Linked DNA regions of Homo sapiens: regions 2 and 3 are each linked to region 1. The links are contacts of gene promoters, found by promoter capture Hi-C in human tissues and cell types (Jung and others, 2019). All regions are on one chromosome and are shown on one strand. The core of a region is centred on a gene start or on the middle of the fragment in contact, and the rest is flanking DNA. Distances in the headings are between cores, read along the strand shown. Region 1 holds the start of MAP1B (microtubule associated protein 1B). Region 2 overlaps MRPS27 (mitochondrial ribosomal protein S27). Region 3 has its middle 180 kb from the start of CARTPT.

Region 1 (4,034 bases), core at 1,523-4,022:
AAGCCATGATGTCTATTGCAAAGGGAACACAAGGGGGCTTCTGGGGTTCCAGTAATGTCTGTTTCTTGATCTGGGTAACCCAGGCGTGTCCGTTTTGTGAAAATTCGTTGAGCTGCTCATCTTTGATTTGTGCCCTTTCCTCTCTATATAATACTTCAACCGAATTTTTTAAAAAATTAATGTCAAGAAGACAAATCTGAATTTTGTCACTAAGTGCTAGTAGTGTAAAAACGAGTAAAGGCAGGGAGCCCTTCTTCATAGCAGTACGTGGATGCGTCTGTTTTCTCCATAAATAGATGCAGCTTGTATAAACCCTCTGAGGAATAGGGCGCTGAAAGGATGATCAGATGAGTAACAAAGCAGGAAGATAATTACGATCCGAAGGTGATTGCTGAACCATCTCCCAGCATGGGGCGCTGCCCACAAGTGGATGGCCATACAAAGGCAAGCCCTGAAAACTGTTGTACTGAAACCTTCCTCCCATCATAGGATGTTAGCCAACCCTGCACTAACATCATGACAGGGTCAGAAAACGAGTGACGCTGCAGTACTGGTACTTCTGTCACTTATGAGTGCTGTGACCTTGAGCCGGTTCTCTTACCCTTCCTGCCTCTCTGGGCCCCCAGCTCTAAAACGGGGTTGATGATCCCTCTCCTAGCACCACCACATCGAATGGTTATGAAGATTTTGTAGATAGAAAAGCACCTCCTAATATATTCCTATTTCCCAGAAATGCTACTTACAAATAATTTTTTAAAGAAAAAAATCCAAAGTCATTGATTCCCACAATAGCCACACCCAAAGTCAGTATGTGTAAAATTTTTCCAGGAGAAAATTGTGCAAATAAACTAAATTAGAACAGATTAGACCAAAGGCCTATATAGTCTGAAAATGAAGGGTTATTGAGATGCTCAAATAAGACATTTCACTACTGAAATATCTCTTGTTCTTGAATTTTTTGGAATAAAATACTATGACTTTCTGCTCACATTTTTTTTCTTTTTTTTTTTTAAGCTAAAAGGGAAAATCAAGTGCTTTAAAGTTAAACAAAAGAACCAGGTCTGCAACTCCAGTCCCCACCCTGCAGCCTTTTGTTCTGGGGACAAGTGGCCGTTTCCAACTGCAGAGGCAGATGACAAGCATTTATTTTTTCATCTAAAACAAGGTTTTTCTTTCGTCTTTTATTGGGGAGGGGGAGTGGGGAACGAGGGCTGCGTGAACGCCCTTTGTCCGCCTCGGGCTGCCGTAGAGACCGCAGTGCGGACTGCACCACGCCCACCAACCGGTGTCTCCCGGAGAAACGCTTCAGCACCACCCCAGGAGAATAGAGCGCGGGCTGGGGCTGCGGAGGGACCCGGCGACCTCTGTCAGGAGCGAGGGGAGGGCCGGGACGCCAGGGATAAAGGGAAAGGCAGAGACCAGAGCTGCCCACCCAGGGACTCCCAGGGCAACAAAGCCAGGCAAACTGAGAGGTGGGGGCGCGCGGCCCCCGCCAGCCCGAGGCCCGGGCGGAGCGCAAGCCCAGCCAGCCGTGCCCGACGGGGGCGCCGCAGTGTGGGGGGGCAGGTGTGGCGGGCGGTCCGGAGGCACTGCGGCAGCTCGGGTGGGGCTGGGGGCGGTCTCTCTGTGCGCCCGAGGCTGTGCCCGCCGGACCCTCACGGCCCCGCCCAGGGTCCCCGGCGTACCGCTATTCGGCCTCCGCAGAGCGCGCCACTGGTGCGAGCACCGGGCGAGGAGCTGACCCTACCCGCTGACGTCTCCCTCACCGACCCCCTTCAAGCTACCACTCCCGAGGCTGGGACTTCTAAAAGCAGCAGCCCCACCCCGCAACTTGGGGTCCCATTGTCCTTTCTGAGAGCTGCAGCCAAGGCCCCAAGGGCGGTAGCGAGGCGGGCTCTGTCTGGTGGCGAAGCGCAGGCGGTTCTGCATCCCAGCATCTCCCCGGGGAGGGGGGGGCGGGGGGAGCGGGCGTGGCCCTAGGACTAGCCTAGTCATTCTGAGGAAAGAAAGGATCGGGAGGTTTGAAATCAGAAAAGGCGTTTCTCAGGGGCTGAGGTAGCCGTGGTGAGGATGAATCCCACGCGGGCCCTGGCACATGGGCTTCGGCCCCAGGTCTGCGGTGGTGGGGGTCCCAGCCTTTTCCTGAGGCCAGAAGAGGACTGAAAGGAGTGGTTGCATCAGGTCTCCCCCACCCTTCTGCCTCCTGCGGTTGCGGCTTTATTGTGGCCTCTGCTCCCCTGACACCTGCATTTCACTTAGCGGGAGAGGCGGTGGCCAACTCAGCACAGGCTGCGGACTCAGCGTGGTGACAGATCCCTCAAGGTTATTGGAGACTCTCCCTCTGGGTCTCATATCTAATAATTCGGATTATTCTTAATTAGCCCAGAAAGGGTCTGGACCAAGTATGAGAGGTGACGAGGAGAGGCATGGGTGCGGGGCGCGCGGGAGGAGCGCAGTGACCGTCGCGCCCTGGGTGGGGTCGTGTTTGCGCGTCTCCCAGCGCGCGTCTCTGGGGGCGCGGGGCCACTTACCGAGCTCGATGTTGCCGATGGCACGCCGCAGGTGCTCCTCGGTCACGATCTCGCCGACGACCACCAGCAAGTAGAACTTGCTGTCAAGGAAGCGGTGCGACAGGCTAGGCGAGGTGGACGCCGCCGGGTTGGCGATGCTGCCGGACGGCTCCGGCTCGGTGGCTTCCACCACCACGGTCGCCATCCTGCCGGCTGCTGTGCCTCGGCGAAGTGTCTCGCTCCGGCCGCTCCTCTCCACTGCGGCAGGAGAAAGGATTATCTCCGAAGGTACTGTCTCCGCTCCGCCCCCTGCGTCCCCCCTCCTCTGGCGCCGCGCGCCGCCTCCCCCTCCGCCCTCTCCCAGCGCCGCGGAGAGTGCGCGGCGGAGAGGAGCGGGGAGTGAGAGAGGGCGGGGAGGCGGCGCCGCTTTTATATGGAGACTAGGCAGGGAGCCGGGAGGAGGAGGAAGAGGAGGAGGAAAGGACCACCCGGCACATCCTCACGCGGTGGCTGCCTCCGCTCTTCCAGCCGTTGGCCCGGGGCTGATGTCATCTGCAGCAAATCATCTCGCCCGCGGCCCGGAAGCTGGAGGGACGAGGTGTGCGGACAATGGTCGGGGCAGGGCCGCGAGCCAAGGGGCTGGGGCGCCCGCTGAGCTCCTGCTGCAGCCGTGAAGGGGGAAGACGCTCTCAACCTACACCACCCACCACGTACACACCCACTGCCCACTCCTCACCCTCACCCTGTCTGTGCATGGGAATGGGATGAGTTTCCATTTTCGGAGTGGGGGTCTTTTCTCTTGTTGGAGTTGCACTAGTCAGGCCTCTGCCTTGTGTGCTGTGTATGATGTAGCCAGGTTCTCAGGAACTGGGATAGCCACAGTGGGCAGATGCGGGGCTGTGGGTACCCCGCCTAGGAAGACGGAACCTGTCTTTTCTTTGACCTTGTGGCTTTAAGAAGACGAATTTACTGATATTTACCAATATCAATATTTACCACCTTCACTTAAAGAATACATCAAAAATGCAAAACTTAAGCCTACTATTGTTCAGGCCTTGGATTCTACTCTGGCAGGGCCAAGGATGAAAAAGTACTGGCTTTGTGGTGCTCATGGGAAATGAGAGAAATGCAGATGTATTATATTAGATACCAATTTCTTTCCTTAATGTGCTGAACAGATAGTATCAGTAATAACAAAGAATAAAGAGAAGATACTGTCTCTACTCAGCAGGGTTACAGTGACTATAATGTACTTTTCAGTTCCTTGGGGAACACACAAGCAAAATTACCTCGTGACAATGATGTCTTTTAAAATACCTGTAGCATTGGGAATTTTTATTGCCTTTGTTTGTGTTTAGAAGAACTAAAAAATGTGTTTTTTGTTTTTGTTTTTTTGTTTTTTTTTTTAAGGCAGCCTATTTACAACCGTTTCTCACAAACATACTGAATATAGCTTCTGTCCCAGAAAAGGGGAGGAGGGTGAGGAAAGAGCAAAATGTGCAAACATGGTATCATAGAAGACTG
Region 2 (4,117 bases), core at 1,051-3,550, 170 kb before region 1:
CTTTCATTTTCATGATAGATTTCCAGGTATGTTTGTTTTGAACAGGCAGATTTTACATTTTGAGGTCTATTCTGTTTTTTTAATAGCAATGCTGATTTTAAGACAAATAGTATCACCATTTTATACCTAGTAATAGGCAAAGCTGGGACTTAAAACTAGGTCTTCCAACACCAGATCATTACAGCACATGAACAGTGTATTCATTATGCACTGGCTGTTACATAGTTCAGTGATGGACACTACCAAGAGGTGAAACTCAATCATTAGTCTTCATTGGTAAAAATCTTGGCAGAGTTTTGATAAGTCAAACACTGAAATTATGTGTTCAAGTGAGAACTTTGTGCATCTCATACGTATAGATTAGTATAGTCCTCCATTTGCTGAATAATAGCAGGTAATAACAGACTTACACACTTACACAGTGCTTTCAGACTCCAGTTGGAATGGACTACTGTTCTCTGAATGTGCCTTCTACTTTCATATCTTGCCTATGCTCTTCCCTCCCCACTGTCTCTTTCTAACAGAATACAGCCTGTGTTTTAAGGCCTGTCCCAAATTCTGCTACACTCATAAACTTACCCTGATTTTCACGGTTGAATGTGATCTCTCTGACCCATCTATAAAATTTTGTTTTACCTATTCAGGGGTGCTTACTTATTTTGTTTTGTCTTCTGTCAAAAATATTTCTTTCTTTCTCTTTACCTGAGACACAGTATAGTATAGTAGACAAGAGTATGGACTTGAGCCAGAGTGCCTGGATTTGAATGTCGAATGTGCCATCCATTTCCTCCCTCATAAAATGAGTGTTAAAATAGTGCCTGTGCTTTAGGGTATTTATGAGACTCCAAGAAATTGATAACGTTATAATGCCCTTAGAACAGTCTTGGGACAAAGAAGGTCAGTGCTCAATAAAATTTAGCTTTAATGTTGACTATACTAGATTGTAACATCGGGAGAAGCAAGGAGTATTTATTTCCCATACTTCTCTCTTATGGGAAAATGTATTTGATTTCTGGTTTAGGTTTCCCTAACCATCCGCACCACCCCTGCCCCAAGGGCATCAAGGTGTAAGGGCCATCAAGGCTCAGGAATGTGGAGAAGTAGATGCTTAGGAACACTAGTAGTTCAACACACATTTAGAAAGGATATCACATTTTGGGGGAAGCTTCCTGACCCTAAAAGACAGCAAATCAAATCTGTCATACGTGTACCCGTATTGCTAAGCTTACAGCCACAAACCAGAAGGGGGCAACAGATCTGCTTACTATCTGTGAAGAAGGGAGAAGAAGCCTCAAGAAAATGATTCCCAGTTAGGAAAAAACTGCACCATAACTGATCTCTGATAAGATGTTATTGAATCAATAATCAAAATACAGATTAGACACAAAAAGAGAGGTCTGTTCTGTGGGCTGGGAGCATGTAAGCAATTGAAATAGAAATTGTGGAACTGCTTCCAGAGATTTTAGTTTTGATATCTGGCATGCACAAGAGCAGCTCAGAATGGCTAAAGTTGTTTAATGTTGTCAGCATTCCCCACTTTTATTTTATTGGTTTTTTTAGAAGCTGTGCAAGAGTTTCTATTTGTAGAGCTGATTCTTATATAGAAAACTGGGCTGCTGTGCAGCCTTGCAGGTTAGAATGAAATATACATTTTTTTCATATTTTTAAAATCATTTCTTGTTTATGGAAAAAGTAATTACATATTCTTTTTTTAAAAAAAATACTTATAAAGGAAAAATCACTTGTTTTTAGTGTGTTTCTTGCCAGTCTTTTAAGTATATCTTTCCATTTTATTTGTTTTAAACTATTAAACAGTAAGTGTCACATTTCATCTATAAATTCAGTGCAATTCCAACCAAAATCTCAGCAGAAATTTTTGGGGAACCTGAGAAGATGACCCTGAAATTCAAGTGAAAGAATAAAACCAAGAATAGCTAAGACAGTTTTAAGAAGACTAACATAAAATGATTGGTCCACAAGATAGACAACAAGACTTATTAGAAAGCTACAAAAAATACAAATGAAGATAATGGCTTAGATGTAGACAAATAGACTAGTGGAGCAGAATAGAGAGAACCCAGAAATGTATCTACATATCTGGAAACCTGAGATATTTTTTACATCAAAGGGCGAAGAATGGATTAGTTAATAAATGCTACTTAGACAATCGATAATCTAACAATTATATGGGAAAATTCTTCATTCTTACTTCAAAATATATGAACATACTCACACACATTTTTTTTAGGTAGATTAAAAACCGAAATGGAAAAAGCAAAACTTTTAGAAGGAAATATAGGAGAATATTAATAGTAGTATAACACTGGGGACACTGAAGGATTTGTTTTTTTTTGAACAAGACACAAAAAACATAACAAAAGATTGATAAATTTTTTTGTTTTGTTTTATTACTAAGTGATAATTGTTTTTGGGGTTTTGTTTTTGTTTTATTTTGTTTTGTTTTGTTTTGTTGTCTTCCATGATTCAGAATGGTTTTTGTTGTTGTTGTTATTTAATGCTTGTTGTGTGTTTTTTAAGAGACAGGGTCTCGCTGTGTTGCTCAGGCTGGTCTCAAACTCCTGTCCTCAAGCAATCCTCCCATCTTCGCCTCCTAAATGGCTAGGATTATAGGCGTGAGCCACTGCACCTGCTCTGATAAGGTTTAATGCATTAAAATTTTAAAGTTCTATTCTACAAAAATTTTGTTACCACCAGTAACAAAATTAAAAGACCAGGGAAGATTTGCAATGCATGTAGCTAACAAAGATTAGTATCTAGATTATATCCATAGGCCAATAAGATAAGAATTTTAGAAAAGTGGATAGAGAATATGAACCAGCAGTTCACAGAATAAAAAACCATATTGGCAGTTAACATATTTAACATATGAATAGATGCTCACTCTCAATAATCAGATAAATTACAGATTAAAATGATACATTTTCACATTTATTAGATGCAAAAATAAGACTTCCATAATAATTGTGACAAAGAGGAGCAACAGGAAGTCTGATTCACTACTAGTGGGAGTTTAAAATTATATAGTCACCTTGAAGAGTAGTTTGGCAATATGAAGTAAAAGAGGATGGGCATGGTCATCTTCTACTCAGCCTTCTGCTCTGGGGTATATACCTTAAAGGAACTCTGGCTTGTATAAGGATTAAGTTATAAGACTGTTCATTTTAACATTGTTCATAATATGAAAAACTGGAAGCAACTTAAATATCCTCCAATAGAAAAAGAAGAAAAATGTGATAGACTTTTTTTTACAATGGAATACCATACAACAGTGAGAAAGAATAAGCCAAAGCTATCTATAGATGCATACATATCTATACACACATACACATATATATCAGGGTGATTATCTCAAAACATAATGAGTAAAAAAAAGGTGAAATATCGTACATATAATATGATACCATTTATGTAGTTTGAAAATATGCAAAGCAATATCATCACTTACATGGATACATGTTATAAAGTGAAGGGTATAAAAAACATGCCCAAAAATGGTAAACAACAAATTCAAGGTATTATCTACCTATGAAGAAGCAGGATGGGGTTGGAGTAGGATCCGGAAATATACATGAGGGAGCATCAACTGTATCTATAATGCTTTATTGGCTTAAAAAGAAAATCTCAAGTATGACAGACTTTAAATTTTTTTTTTTTTTTTTTTTTTGAGATGGAGAGTCGCTCTGTCACCCAGGCTGGAGTGCAGTGGCGCGATCTCGGCTCACTGCAATCTCCGCCTCCTGGGTTCACACCATTCTCCTGCCTCAGCCTCCCAAGTAGCTGGGACTAGAGGCGCTCGCCACCATGCCCAGCTAATTTTTTTGTATCTTTAGTAGAGACAGGGTTTCACCATGTTAGCCAGGATGGTCTCAATCTCCTGACCTCGTGATCCGCCCGCCTCGGCCTCCCAAAGTGCTGGGATTACAGGCATGAGCCACTGCGCCTGGCCAGATTTTAAAATTTGATGAAGATAGGTGGTTGAGTATGTGGGTGTTATGTTCTGCTTATTTTTGTTTTTGTTTTTTAATTTAAGTTTCAGGATACATGTGCAGATTTGTTACATAAATAAACATGTGCCCAGTGGTTTGCTGCAGCTATC
Region 3 (3,746 bases), core at 11-2,510, 210 kb after region 1:
GAAAAGCACGACTTATTTTTTTATAAGCAACTTGTTATCAGACTCTAGAATCTAGGCTCACCAACCATGTGACTTCATTTTCTGGAACTCACTTTGCTCATCTGCAACATGGGCACCTTATCTTAGAGGGCTAGAAGATGGAAAAGAACAGGGCAAAAGGAAAGCCAAGTGGGACAGCCTCTGGCCCTGGACCCCCTGCTGCCTCCCAAGAGCTCCACCTTTAGAATTTCACATAAGATTGTGTTTTATAAGAGAGTTTCACTAAGGAAATGAGGATCTTGAAATCCACTGGACCAGATAATCTGTAAGAGCCATTCCAGTTCTGCCATGTTATGATTAGAAACACTCCCACATGGCCAGAATAAGGCAGGTAGTAGCACTGCTGTGAGCTGAGCCAATTTGGGAGTGGCATTGTCCTAGATGTGTTGTTAAAGGCAAAGGCCAAGTTGTAAAGGCAGAATCGAGATGGGAAGACAGCAGATCCAGGAAGAAGGTGATAATGTAGGGCTGTTTCTTCCATTTGGTTTCATTATGCATGAAACACAAGGACAAGTACATGTTAAAGAATAGACATTTGTTTGATAGATGCATATTAAAGGTTATATATTGATAAACAGTTATAATATTACAATTAAACAGAAGAGATGTCACCCAGATATATCTCATCTCATTCATCCATGAAACATTTAACTAAAGAAAGGACTGGCAAGGCTGAGTGCCATCCCTACATGCAATGCTGATAGGGATGGGCCTGGCTGGAGATGTTCATGCCGCTAGAGCATGACCTGGAAAAAGCCCTGCCAGCTCCACCCCAGACATGAAACAGACACAGGTCCAGGAGCCAGGAGACCCTGTTTGAGTCTCAGCTCTTCCCCTTCATCAAGTCATTCTCCCTCTCTGAGTCTATTTCCTCTTCTGTAAATGAGTGGGTTGGTCTAGATGATCTTTAAAGTACCTTCAGTTCTAAAACTCCAGGGTTTCATGTGCAAGATGGTGGCAGGGTGGGGGTAGAGGTTGCAATGCTTCTTCCCCACTCGTGCTGTGTGTCTGGATAGAGGAAACCTCCTCAGTAGGGGAGATTCTAGATTCTCTTCACCTTGTACTTCCACTGCACGTGTGGAGATGGAAGCTTCTCTGCTTGGTAAATGTGGGGAGAATGGGTGGTCATGTTCAACTCCATCTTCTTGTTTGACACTGGGGCAAGCAGTCCGTCTCCATTTCTGCTCCAAGAGCAGCCCCCTCCCTAGAGCAGGACTGCCTCCAACCAACACTGGTGTTCCTCATTTGGGGGCTCAGAACTAGCAAGGCCTCTTGGCTAACGTGCTAAGGGTACATCCTTTCACCTGGCCTAGGTGTGACTTCATTTACTGAATGCATGATACAGCTGACCTGGCAGAGCTGACTTGAGGGGGGCATGAGCCTTCACCCCATGTGCCAGCATCAAAGGGGCTTCCTCTGTCCTGGCTACTCTTTCATAAAAACAACTTTATGGTTGTTTTCATAAAACACTACCACTATTATCCTCATTTTATAGGTGAAGAAACTGAGGCTCAGAGTTTAATCAACTGGCCCGAGGTCTCACTGCTAGCTGATAGAGTCTTTGTAAGAATTGTATGCACTGTCTCTGAATGTGTTTTTTGACGTTGCATCTCCCAGGCCTGGCTGTGTGACATGAAGGGGCACCATGGATGCAGCCTGTCTGGGGAGCAGCCCCCATTGGCAGCCTGATGGGTGAAGGGAGAAACCAGTCTTCAAAGTCACACCTCCAAGAATCCTGGATCTACTCCTCACCCAGCCCCTACTCAGTAGCAGCTGGCTGCACAGAGGCGACAGGTGGAGCTATCAGCTCCAGAGGAAACCACTTCTCTCCACCGATGTGGGGCAGTGAATGTGGAGGGTGGGGTGGGCAGCCTTGCCGTCTGGCTGAGTTTCTCTCAGGAAGTGCAGCTCACCTGGGGGTCCCTCCTGACTGTGGTCTCCAGCCCTCCCTGTCAGAAGAGAGAAACATCTACCTGGCAAAGCTGTCAGCTGCAGTTAGAATGAACCATCTTCAAACTCCAGCAGCCCCTAGCTTAAATGTTACTTCCTCAGGGAGATGTCTTCATCATCTGGATCAGCAGGTCTGAATTGTGGTGGCCCATTCCAATCCCAGAGGGCTTTAAAAAACAATGATGTCTGGGCTCCTTCCCTTCCCTGGTAAATCAGAATCTCTGGGATTGGCCAGGGTTAGAAACCACTGTTCCAGACAAAGCTCATTCCCTTACCCACCATCCATTCCCACTCCTGGGTTCACATCCCACTTGTCATTTTTACCTGGATGGCTGCGTTAGCTGCTGACCTGTAACCTCCATGAGAGTGGGGGTTGCAGCATGCCCTCCTCTCCAGCACTTGACATGGTTCTTCACACTCAGCAGCAATTCAAAGAACATTTGGCAAATAAGATCAAACAGTGATGACTTGGCATTCAGGACTTTTTCTCAAAAAAATTCAAAATACTTTTACATGGAAAATTGTTTGCATGTGTATTTCATAATCGAAAAACACATTCATAAGCAGCTTATGCAACTCTTACATAAACCTTGTGCGATAAATACTATCACCTAGCTTTGAGACCTTACTCAAGCTAATTAAACTCAACCTCAGTTTCCTCATCTTTAAAATAGGAATAATAGTACCTCCCTCTTAAGGTTATTAAGAAGAATAATTGAAATAACCCTAACACTTAGCACATTGCCTGGCCCACAGTGAGGGTTCAAGAATATTAGCTATTATTGTTGATAATTCACCTCATGTTACAGAAGGTAAACTGAGACTCAAATAGGCAAAGTGCCTTGCCCAAGATCCCACAGGGTTAGGACCCAAACCAATGTCTTCTGACTCCCAATTGTGTATTCTTTCACATTCCAGTTGAGAATGTTTTTGTAAGCTAGGATCTACAATATCAGCCTAGTTTTCCAGATGGGAAAATTCACCACTGAGAGAGGTGAATCAGCACAGTGCATTGGATTAGGCATGAATGGATGTTCCTCTGCTCTGGCATGGGCTAAGAGTGGGCCTTCATCCAGCCCCATTTTCTCCCTGTGCCTCATTTTCTGCCTCTGTAGACTTGAGAGGCTGATCAGGTGATCATGAGTTCTTCTCCAACCCTGACTATGTGAGATGTGTCCAGTGATCCTCTGCATGGTGTGTGGGTGCTCTGCTCCTGCCCCTGGGCAGAGCAGCCTCCTTCCTCCCACAGCATCCACGCTGAGCCCAAAGAGAGGAGATCATAAATCATCCCTCCCTGCCCATAATGCCTTGCTTTTGAAGGAGCCAGGGAAAGATGAGGCTGCCCCTGGGACCACAGGCCCAGCATGTGACGCCCTCCCCCTGCCCAGGCTGCTACATTCATTATGCACATCCTGAGTGAGGAAGCTCTGGGGAGCCCCATTCCAGGAGATGACAGTCTCAGGTTCTTCTTCGAGAGCATTCTACAAGGTAGTAAATAGACACTAATGAGCCTCTGGCTTCTTAATGTGCCGAAGTGTCTCTCTCACTGGTTTTGCCAGTCACGGAGCATCATTCTTCCAGGAAAAGCAGCTCTGGCCTTCCTCAAGTCCAAAAAGAAAAGAAACTAGGCAGAGAGTATATTAAAAACCAGGTAGAAAAAAAGAAAAACATGACCCTGAAACCACACCAATTTGGTGATTTTTTTTCTTTTTGCTGTCCTAGGACTTTTTTAAATATTGAGGAGGTATGACATTTCC

The links. The method cuts DNA at HindIII sites, captures the fragments that hold promoters and counts their contacts. A contact is called where the count stands out against the background at its distance.
Region 2: a fragment that was not itself captured here is called in contact with the fragment with the promoter of MAP1B in region 1 in 1 of the 25 tissues and cell types used here (mesenchymal stem cells).
Region 3: a fragment that was not itself captured here is called in contact with the fragment with the promoter of MAP1B in region 1 in 1 of the 25 tissues and cell types used here (lymphoblastoid cells).

What each region holds. Positions count from the first base shown.
Region 1 is chr5:72,106,213-72,110,246 of GRCh38, reverse strand. MAP1B (microtubule associated protein 1B) reads right to left here and starts at 2,772. Exons shown (of 7, transcript NM_005909.5): 1 at 2,532-2,772. The coding sequence starts at 2,715. It overlaps LOC105379028 (a long non-coding RNA gene), which reads left to right. Exons shown (of 3, transcript XR_007058813.1): 1 at 1-1,472; 2 at 2,260-2,322. RefSeq lists enhancers at 1,171-1,465, 1,871-2,853. The HindIII fragment of the contact is 7,344 bases long and covers 1-4,034 here.
Region 2 is chr5:72,278,011-72,282,127 of GRCh38, reverse strand. All of the region lies in intron 4 of MRPS27 (mitochondrial ribosomal protein S27), which reads left to right. LOC107986422 (a long non-coding RNA gene) reads left to right here. Exons shown (of 2, transcript XR_001742742.2): 2 at 1-1,278. Among named protein-coding and RNA genes, the nearest start is that of MRPS27, 40 kb to the left of the region's middle. The HindIII fragment of the contact is 3,602 bases long and covers 500-4,101 here.
Region 3 is chr5:71,892,407-71,896,152 of GRCh38, reverse strand. No RefSeq gene overlaps it. Among named protein-coding and RNA genes, the nearest start is that of CARTPT, 180 kb to the right of the region's middle. The HindIII fragment of the contact is 4,518 bases long and covers 1-3,519 here.